Regions from separate parts of the Homo sapiens genome. Here region 1 is linked to region 2. Evidence: promoter capture Hi-C in 16 types of primary human blood cells and fetal thymus (Javierre and others, 2016). All regions are on one chromosome and are shown on one strand. The core of a region is centred on a gene start or on the middle of the fragment in contact, and the rest is flanking DNA. Distances in the headings are between cores, read along the strand shown. Region 1 holds the start of SLC36A4 (solute carrier family 36 member 4). Region 2 holds the start of FUT4 (fucosyltransferase 4).

Evidence for each region. The method cuts DNA at HindIII sites, captures the fragments that hold promoters and counts their contacts. A CHiCAGO score of 5 or more calls a contact.
Region 1: a contact is called between the fragment with the promoter of SLC36A4 here and the fragment with the promoter of FUT4 in region 2, in 5 of 17 cell types (activated CD4 T cells, total B cells, neutrophils and 2 more). The highest score is 9.0, in activated CD4 T cells.

Annotation. Positions count from the first base shown.
Region 1 is chr11:93,193,984-93,199,654 of GRCh38, reverse strand. It overlaps SLC36A4 (solute carrier family 36 member 4), which reads left to right and starts at 1,664. Exons shown (of 11, transcript NM_152313.4): 1 at 1,664-1,877. The coding sequence starts at 1,823. RefSeq lists a silencer at 1,523-1,902. The HindIII fragment of the contact is 1,801 bases long and covers 1,047-2,847 here.
Region 2 is chr11:94,541,632-94,546,643 of GRCh38, reverse strand. It overlaps FUT4 (fucosyltransferase 4), which reads right to left and starts at 2,723. Exons shown (of 1, transcript NM_002033.4): 1 at 1-2,723. The coding sequence starts at 2,510. The coding sequence ends at 918. It overlaps PIWIL4-AS1 (PIWIL4 antisense RNA 1), which reads left to right. Exons shown (of 5, transcript NR_135093.1): 5 at 798-1,312. RefSeq lists an enhancer at 472-1,146 and a silencer at 1,966-2,535. The HindIII fragment of the contact is 5,462 bases long and covers 1-4,040 here.

The sequences.
Region 1 (5,671 bases), core at 415-2,914, 1.3 Mb after region 2:
CTAATTTATAAGACCTGGAGTAGAAGTCCTAGTAAATATGTTCTCAAGTAGAGATGCATGAAAAACATATTTCTCTTGAATCTTATGATCATTGTTATCACTTGCTTTATCTCCACATCACTGTAAAGACATTGGGCCTCCTACCTCAGCCCAACCCTCTTCAAAAGATTTCAGGCCTATACTACAAGTCAAACTTTTCTTCCTTCCATATTGCCAGATCTGCTTTCCCTGAAGCTGAGATTAGGGGACAATGACTTTTGATCCCTTTTAACTCTCAAAGGATAATGTTCTTTTAAGATGCTGTCCCACATGTTCTCATTATAATGAGTGGTTTATGGAAAATTACCTTGGTCCTATAATTTCTGTCTGATGCCTATCTTCTCTCCTGCTGATCTTTAACCAGGTGATCCACCCCAACACAGGTTAGGGAACATTGCTCTAGCTATGTTCCAGAATAGATTTCTTCTTCTTCTTCTTTTTTAAAAAAAATCTCCTTTACCCCTTTATTTGTCAGGAACACTTCAAATAAAACCTTCTTTTGGGATTTGCATGTGTATGTATGTGAACAAATTGGGTTCACTTAAAGGAAAAGAAAGGGGGTTGGCAAACTGTCATTATCACTAGTTATCTAGTGAAAGCCTACAGAGGATGCAACAGGAGGAAAGATGTAGATAGTATGTAACTGCGTACCTTTTTAATCTCAGAATTTTAAATATTTAACACCATTGCCATATAGTTACATCAGTGACTGTTAATCAGACCCACTCCCCCCCAAAAAAACCCTTTCCTAAAGCAACCCCACTGAATGAAACGGACACAAATAAAAAGGATTGTCTGGTGTACTGACTTCCAAGAACTATGAAGTGAAAAAAAAAAGAAAGCGATTTTAAAATTAAAATAAATATTTTCCTTTTAAACCAAAAGCTTGCTTCATCCATTGATTCATCGAATATTCATTGGTACCCATCTGGGAGGCCAGCTTTGCATATTTTTCGAGAGCTCCAGCTCTGAAGGCAGAAGGATTCTACTTCTGCCATGTACAAGCTTCCTGTCCCCAGACACGTTACTTACCTCCGTGCCTTAATCCCTTCATCTTTAGCGTTAATGTAAATATTAGAATTATCTCACAAATTGTAGTCAGAATTAAAGATAATGTATGTATGGTGCTTAGGAGTACTTGAAACTACATCAGTACACTTAGTCTTTACCTTAATTTTCTTTCAGCACCACGGTCAACGTCAAATATCTGGAAGGACATTGAAATATCCTGAAAGTGAAATTGTATATGACTTAATTAAATTCTATTTAAGTGTCTCCTGTAACTCTAACTATAGAAACAGGGAGACGAATAACCAGAGTAGTCAGAACCTCAGCATGGGTAGGGGACAAATCCCGTCCTTCTTCGCATTCTCCAAGGTGACTTACAGAACGCTAACGCCTTGCATACGGACAGGCGCCCCAAATTTAAGTTCGCCGTCATCTTTAAAACCCCCAGGGAGCTATGGGCCCGGGTCTCGGCTAGCTCTAAGGTCCCACCCTCGCTGATCTCAGGTTACCCAACCCTCCTCTCGGGTTACCCAACCCGGCCTCGCAGCAGTCCTCGGGTCTTCGGCCCCTCCCGCCCCTCGCCGGCGGTGCCCGCCGAGCCGGGCTGTCCCACTGCGCATGCTCCTCGCCGCGCGGTTGGGGAGCGCCGGGGCAGGGAGGCGGGCACCAGGCGCGGGTCCCTCCGGGCAGGGGAGGTAGGCCTGGGCCTGACGCCGGCCACGCAGCGGCGGGAGAGTGAGCACTCGGGCGGCGGCGTCCTGGAGACCCGCGAGAGATGGAAGCGGCGGCGACGCCGGCGGCTGCCGGGGCGGCGAGGCGCGAGGAGCTAGGTCGGTGTTGTGCGTGGGCAGGGAGCCGGGGCTGACGTGGGCGGGGGTCTGTGCGGGAGTCGGGTGCGCCCACACCTCCAGGGGCCCCGCGCTTGGCCTGAGTTGAGGCCCGATTGCTAACTGACCCCGTGGTCAGCATCCGCAAAGGAACCGGTTATCTGACCCCGAGAACTTGGTCAGACGAAGCCCAGGCCTGAATAGGGCGTTAAAATATGTGTGTGTGTGTTTGCGCGCGCGCGTGTGGGTGAGTGTGTGTGTTGAGTGGGGCGGGGCCCTGTGGGTACACGTCAAAGACGCAAGAGCCTGCGCCGTGACTCACGGTTTTTTTCCCAATGATGCTTTAAGGAAGTTATCATTGTTCTGCTTTTCAAATGCTGCAGCCCCATTCGGAATCTCCAGATGAATCCTCATTTTACTCCTTGTTATCCCAGAGTTTCGAACAGGTCGTGCTGACCAGAATGAACAGGAGATACCTGTAGCTTGCTCACTTGGCAAAGTTTGTTTGTTTTTTGCTGCTTTCCTCCCATCTTGTTTCTTGGCGACAGGGCGTGTTTGTTTACGGTTTCCCGCTGTCCAAAATAAAAAAGTAAGGATCAGGGTGGTAAAATGATCGCTCTCCCAGTTATACGTACTGTACTTGGGAGTATTTTTCATTCGATGCTGATTAAATGTAATTAAAAAATTAAATCTAAATGGAATCTTCAAGAAAACCGTTGAACTTTAAAAAATACCGTATTATAAGTAACTGATAGGTTGTTGTTATTCCTCTAATAGCCTGCAGGGCACTTTGCAATGGAATTGTTTTCAGGCCGTAATAATGGTAGAAACAATAAACTTAACATTTTATTGCGTGCTTACTGTGTGCAAACACTGTGCTAAGTGCTTTACCTATGCATTGTCTTTAATCCTCACAGCAACTGAGATAGGTGCTATCATGATTTCCATTTTATAGATACAGTAATTTTAAGCTTATTAATGGCAGAACCCAAATGTGAACTCAGGTTTCATTCATTAATAACCTGTCTTAGTGAGGATATGGAGAAATGGGTATTCTCATGCATTGCTGGCAGGAAAGGGATAATATATTTAGCCTTAAAAATGTACATATCGGCCTGGCGCGGTGGCTCACGCCTGTAATCCCAGCACTTTGGGAGGCTGAGGCGGCCGGATCATCACAAGGTCAGGAGATGGAGACCATCCTGGCTAACACGGTGAAACCCCGTCTCTACTAAAAACACAAAAAATTAGCCGGGCGTGGTGGCGGGCGCCTGTAGTCCCAGCTACTCGGGTGGCTGAGGCAGGAGAATGGCGTGAACCCGGGAGGCGGAGCTTGCCGTGAGCCGAGATCGTGCCACTGCACTCCAGCCTGGGCAACAGAGCGAGACTCTGTCTCAAAAAAAAAAAGTGCTTATCGTTTGACCCAGCAATTCTCCTTCAGAATATTTCCCGAGGAAATAAGTAATGTAACCCATACTTATATCAAGAGGTTTTCATTATAGTATATAGAGAAAAGCTGTTAACTAAAGTACAATGAAAGGAAATTGGTTAAATTGTGGTATAGTTTTACATTGCCTACCATTAAAAGTGATGTGGAAAGATGTTCAGCATGTACATTTTCTTTAACTGAAAAAAAGTTTCAAATTATTTCAGTTTTTTTAAGTTTTATATTTTCATTAATTCAACACATATTCATTGAGCTTCCCCTAGGCACTTGAGATACATCGTGAGCAAAACAGATAAAAATTCCTGTTCTTAATGGAGCTTGTATTTAGTAATGGGAAGCAGAGAGTAAGCAGTAAAGACAATAACCAGTTAATTATATAGTATGTTAGGTGAAAAGTGCTATGGAAAACAAGAGCAGGGTAAGGGAAATCAGGAATGAGGGTGGGGGCTAGGCAGTTTACAGTATTTTATAAAATGGTTGGGATGGGCCTTATTGAAAAGGTACAATTTGAGTAAAGACCTGGAAGAGGTAAGGAAATTAGCCAAATGGATATCTGGGGAACGACTACTCCAGGCAGAAAGAATAACTAAAGGAATAGCAAGGAGGACAAAGTGGCTGAAGCAGAGTGATGGAGGTGGCGATGGGGCCAAATTATGTAGGGTCTTGTAGGTAATGTAAACTGTGACTTTTACCCTGAGGGAAGGGGAGAACAATGCAGGGTTTGAACAGAGGAGTGTCATGATCTGCCTTGTTTTAAAAGGATTGCATTGACTGCCATGTGACGAATAAACTGTAAGGGGGCAAAAGTAAAAGCAGAAGAATATTTCAGTAATTCAGGAAAGATATGGGTGTCCTTCAGAGCAGTATGGTAGTGGCAGTGGAGGTGAATAGACATAGTTAGTCTCTAGGTATATTTTGAAAGAACCAGTGTGATTTCCTGACAGAATGGGTGAGGGTTAGAGAGTAAAACGGAGGAGACATGGAAGACTCCAGGGACCTGAGTATCTAGAAGAATGAAATTGTTATTAACTGGGATATTATGGTGGTTTTGTAATATACCTACAGAGTCTTTGATGTTTTTCTCTTAAGTAGGAGAAACTTAATTTCCTTCTCTTCAAGTGGGGGCTGGACTTAGTAACTTGTGTCTAATGAATAGATTATGGTAGAAGTGATGATGTATGACTTCAATACTAGATAATAAAGTGCATTGTGCCTTCCTCCTTGCCTTCTCTTTTTGAATCACTCACTTGAAGGGAAGCCAGCTGTCATGTTGTGAGGAGACTCAAGCAGCCCTAAGGAAAGCTCCATGTTGCACAAAACTGAGGGCTCCGGACAATAGCCATAAATTGTTATACAGCAATAGATAACTAATACAAATGGGTAAAGTTGCAGGAATAGCAGGCTTGCTGGTGAAGACCAGTTCAGTTTGGGGCATGTTAAGTTTGAGATGTCCATTAGATATCAAAGTGCACATGTCAAGTAGGCAATTGGATTTTATGTCTAGCATTAGTGAAAGGTCTGGTCTGGAAATGTAAATTTGGATGTTATCAGCATATAGATAGTATTTAAAGCTAGGAGACAGAATGAGAACATAATGAGAGTTGTTTGTGTGTATGTGTGTGTGCCTGTGAACATGTACTCTAAAATGTTAACAGTAGTAATTTGTGGGTAATGAAGTAATTTTTAATTTCAAAAATGTTTATATATTTTCTGATTTTCTACAATGACCAAGTGTTATTTAATTTAAAAAAAGAATTTCCAAAAATGGGTATTTATGTAAAAAGCACTGGTAGAGATGTTAAGATACAGGTTCTCGTAAGGTATGTAAATAGCTTAAGGTCTGCACTTTATTTCATATCCCATAGGGACCTCTGGAAAGTTTCTTGCTGTGTATATTTCTTCCACCTCAGAAATGAACAAAATAGTAATGGTTCTTATTTTATATCTAGAGAGTACTTTATTCGGGTGACAATATTATGTTATTTTAAAAAATGAAACTATTTCTACTTTCTTTTAGTTTTTCTATTGCCAAAATACAAGTGATTTTTAAATTTTATTATAAAAGTAATGCAAGTTTGCTACAACTACTTTTTTAAATTTTTTTTATTTTTATATTTTTTTACATTTTCCAGAGAAGGAAAAGCACACTAATGATCCAATTGTCCGTCTATATTCTGGTAAACTTGCTCACATTTTGATATATTTACTTCCCCTTATTTCTACTTAATTTTTAAAAACATGATTGTAATCATATTGCAGATATTCAACTTTTCCCACTTAGCATATGATACACTTTTCCCTGTTTTACTCAGACCTCACAACCATAATTTAATGTCAGTGCAATATTTCA
Region 2 (5,012 bases), core at 1,474-3,973:
ACTGGTTTTCTGGGAAGAGGGAAAAAGGTTGCTTCTGCTTTATTTTCACATCTGTAATTTTAATATGATTTAAAAAATCCAGGTTATAGAAAAACATAAAGACAGAAGAAACAAATTAGGAGATGACTATTCACATTGTAAAGGGATAAATTCTCCATAGGGTTTCATTAAATACTGAACTCCCCTAAGTCAATGAATTTGGGACTTGATTTAAATGCAGCTTTTCAGGAATACATTTCTTATGTAAAGTGAGGTACACGCATGTATTCATCTTAAGTTTCCTCCAAGGACAATCCAGCACTTTGCTTCCATTCACAGGACAGGGGAACAGATAGTACTTGTGAAAGAAGTCAGCGGCCCCTCTTGGACTGCCCTCCTCACCTTTCTCAGGAGCCAAGGCTGTGAGGAATCCAAACAACAAAGTCCCACCTGCAGCCACAGTCCTTCCACTCTCCACCAACAAGGCTCCTTCTACAACCACAAATTTGCTTCACCTTGGTCCAGAAAAACGTGAATCGGGAACAGTTGTGTATGAGATTTGGAAGCTGCACGGGCCACAAATATGGCCTGTGGCAGATGGGGAAATTCAGGAAACCGCCTCAACGGCTTCTTGCCGCTAAGCTATTTCATTTCTGCACTGGTTACAAGGTGAGGAAGAACCCCCTCCTTCACCCCTAAACAATGATGCCCATCAGCAGCAAAGGGAGCCCAATTGCTAGCTGTGCAAAAAATATGGAAACCGGGCCCCCATCTCTGTGCTGAGTAATATTAATTGGTAAATCGTTTTTTTCCCATAGAGCAAAAATGGGTGTTTGAAGAACTTACTCCCATGATGCGGCAGTCAAGGAGATGCACAGTAGAGGATCAAAAAGCTGACAACTTGGCCTCCCCTGGGTCGCTTCCAGGGGAGCGCGGCTTCACCGCTCGAACCAGCTGGCCAAGTTCCGTATGCTCTTGGGCCGGTCCCCAGCCCTCTGTACAGCCTGGCACACCCGGCACCAAGGCTCGTCCCAGAAGGAGGTGATGTGGACAGCGTAGCTCCGGCGCCAGTGGAAGTAGCGGCGATAGACCGCGGGGTTGCGGTCGAGGAAAAGCAGGTACGAGGCCAGGGAGGAGGCACTTGGGAAGTCGTCCACGTGGATGAAGGCGCCGCGGGGCACAAAGCGCTCGTAGTTGGCACGGTCTGGGCCCAGCACCACCGGCACCGCCCCAGCGAGCAACGCGTTGCGCCAGAGCTTCTCGGTGATATAATCCAGGTGCTGCGAGTTCTCGAAAGCCAGGTAGAACTTGTAGCGGGCCACTGTGTGCAGGAGCCCAATTTCGGGCACCGGCTGCCCCGGCCCGCCCCGGCCGAACACGTCCACGGTCACATGTTGGCTCAGTTGGTGGTAGTAGCGGACCCGGGCCTGGCGCTCGTCCCAGTGGCTCACCACCCATGCCACCAGCCCCTGTTTCCTGGACAGTGGCGGGGCCAGGCCTGAGGGCGGGTCGCCGGGGTGGCTTCTGGGGTAGAGGTAGCCATAAGGCACAAAGACGTCCGAGTCCGCCCGGTAGGAGAGCGTCCAGTTGAAGAGGTTACTTGCCAGGCTTCGCAGCCCCGGGGAGTGCGAGGGCGACTCGAAGTTCATCCAAACCCAGCGCTGGCCCGGGGGCCTGGGGCTGGAGGTCGCCAGGGCTTCTGCCGCCGCCGCTGCCTCCTCGTAGTCCAACACGCGCAGATCCACCTCCTCGGCAGTGTGCGCCTGGATGCCCCAGGGCGGGGGCCAGTCGGGGGGCCCCTTCACGAGGTCGCGGTGGTGGAAAAGCACGGCCTGAGCCTCTCCGTAGGACGCGCGGTCGGTGAGCAGGCGGCAGCCGCTGATGTTGAAGCGCAGCCGGCAGTCAGGGGGCGGCCTCGGGGCGCTATCGCGCCCCCCGAAGGGCTCCCACCACAGCAGCACGCCCACCGGTCGCGACGGGGTTGGCGACGCCCAGGGCAGCGGCGGCAGCTGCCCCCAGCAAGCGTAGGTGATCAGCGCCGTACACGTCAAGCCGGCGGCCGCCAGCACACAGACGGTCCATGGCAGCCCCCGGCCTCGGCGCCACCCGCGCCGCCCGCCCGCCGCCGCCGTCGGCGAGCCCCACGGTGCCCCCATGGCGCGAACAGGCAGCGCTGCCTCCGCTCGCCACGCGTCCGCAGGCGTGGAGGAGCGGCACCGGCTCTCATGCTGTAGCTGCGGCTCCAGCCGTCGCTGCCGCTCGCCGCTGGCCCGGGAATGGAAGGGGGCGGTCCCAGAATGCAAAGGCCGCGGGCCCTGCCCTGCTCCTCCCAAGTGCCGGGCGGGGCGAGCCGCCAGGGCAAGGTGAGCTGGCCAGGACGCCCAACCGGGCACCGCCCGTCCCTTTCTTCCACTGCGCCCGGGGCCCAGCCGGCCCGACCAGGCCCCGGGAGCCTCCTGCGGCGCCTCCGCCCACTCCTTCTCCCAGCCCGCGCCCGAGGGCTTCCGGGCCGCGCCCCACAAGCGCCTCATCCGCTACTCTTGATTCTCTCTCAACTGATCCGGTTTCCCTCTGCGCGCGCCCACCGCCCTGGCCCTCGCTCACTGTGGCCCGAACCCTCGCCTTCCAGAGGGAAGGCCCGGTTCATCCCTGGGAAGGTACAGGAGGCTCGAGACCTTCTAAAGCAGCTGCCGCGCAGGAGCAGGCCCTAGAACAGACGGAAGGCGGACCCGGCGCCGCGGAACGGAGGATAGCGTCGGCTTCCTGCCGTTGGGCCTAGCCACCCGCCAGCGACGCCCGCCGGAGGGAGGGATTGAGGGAGGGAGGGAGTCCAGAGGCCGGGGGAACGTGCGAGCAGAGGCGCGGCCACCGCATCCGTGGCCAGGATCTCGTGGCCCGCCGAGACGGTCGAATTGTGGAGGCAGCCCGCAGCGGCGTGGCCTTCAGAGTCTCTGCATTTGGTGAAGAACTTAAGTTTTCAATGTGAGTGCTCATAAGAACATTTCCTTTGCCTGCCAGCCCAGTAAAGGATAGAGAACAAAATGTTTTCTTAGCAATCAAAACATGTTCTTTCCTTTGGTCCCCTACCAAATAAGTCTGACTTGCCGGCTCATAGTAGTATTGCTTGTACCAAGACGCACAGGACTCATAAACCAAAGATGAAGATGTGACCCCCCCAAGGCCCTTGTCGTCAAGGAATTTATTGCCTGTTCAGTGAGATGAATGAATGAATATCACTATTAATTTTACCAAGCACTTAAAAAACATTTTCTGCACCCATGAAAGTTATGCAAAATAGTTTGGATGATAAAATGATGACGAAGATAAATATTCTAGCACCCAAGTTAAGGGTGTAAAGACAGTATCGCACTGGCCTCTTCTACCTTATTAGGCGACACTGGAGACATCTACGTCTACAGTCACTTGAGAAATTTTTTACCTACGGGTTGAATTTGAATTTCTGGGTGTTCGCTTTGGTTTATGATATTCAACTTTTATTCAGGGGATTTCCAAATAGATCAGGGGCGGGGCTGCTGACCTAAGGAGAGGAGAAAGTTTTGAGAGAAGTTTTAGTAGATCACAGCTGTGCATCAGTGGAGTCCCACTGATACTAGGGGAGAAATAGACAGTGCTGGGAATGGGGCAATCCTGCCAGGTGTTTTTGATGTTATGCCTACAGAAAATAAATTTGCGTTAGCCATATGAATTTAAGAATGTTTTCATTAAAAATCAAGTATAGGCCAGGCGCGGTGGCTCACGCCTATACTCCCAGCACTTTGGGAGGCCGAGGCGGGCGGATCCCGAGGTCAGGAGATCGAGACCATCCTGGCTAACACGGTGAAACTCTGTCTCCACTAAAAATAAAAAAAAATTAGCCAGGCTTGGTGGCGGGCGCCTGTAGTCCCAGCTACTCGGGAAGCTGAGGCAGGAGAATGGCGTCAACCCAGGAGGCGGAGCTTGCAGTGAGCCCAGATCGCGCCACTGCACTCCAGCCTGGGCGACAAAGCGAGACTCCGTCTCGGAAAAAAAAAAAAAAAAATCAAGCATTGTGTGTAAAAGCTTCTATAAAAGTGGCTTCCGGGTGGCGCTCTCTGCAGGGCCACAGCCTCAGTTTGGAGACTAGATGGAGGATGTTAGGTGTTCTGGCTAGGCCCATCAACCTAGTAACATTTCCTCCTGCACAGTAAAACCTTTCATAATGCTTCTGGGGTTTTTTGTTTGTTTGAAAAACAGAAATTAGAAATCAAATATTTTATTTGAAATTAGACATTTCAGTGACTTTTTTCCACTCTTACTTTTAATTAAAAGAAAAAGCTATAAATGCACAAATTACTTGTTTAAACGAAATAAAGGAAAAAGTGTATTGGCTTCTCTTTTTATGCAATTCAAGAATCCAGCCATTTATTCACATTCTTCTCCCTCTTCAGTTAAATAAGACATCACAGATAGAGCCTAACATTGTGTCTGGCACGTGGCCGGTAGGCATTTGGGAAATATTACCCTGCTTGATTGCTTCCTTCCACCACTCCCGATTTTCTCTTAAGCCTCCGAATGTTCCAATTAAGCCATCTTTTTACCTGAAGAATGCCCGAGGTCTCATGCATATCAATTTTCTTTGTGCCCTCTTACCTCGGTAGGGTTGAGACCACAAACTGCCCCTACTATACCCTTATTTGATGTGGGAGGAGGGGATACTAGGTAGTAAGGTGTGTCTGGATGAATGGAAACCAGTCGTGACTTCGCAAATTGCTGGTTGAAGGTCATACGTGATCATTGTGCATCTCATACATGCACAAACATTCACAGGGGACTGGATTGTTCTTATTTTAAAAGAGCCATTGGTAGGGTAGAGGAGAAGGAAAGGGAGGAAAGGAGTTATGGGAAATTAATAAATTTACTCACTTGTTCATTTAACAAATTGGGAAACAAATGCAAAACACGGTTTCTACCTTCAAAAATCTACGAGAGAAACAGATAGTGGGGAGGGAAGGGATCATGGAAGGCTTTGAGGAGGTGGCTCCTGGAATAATTAG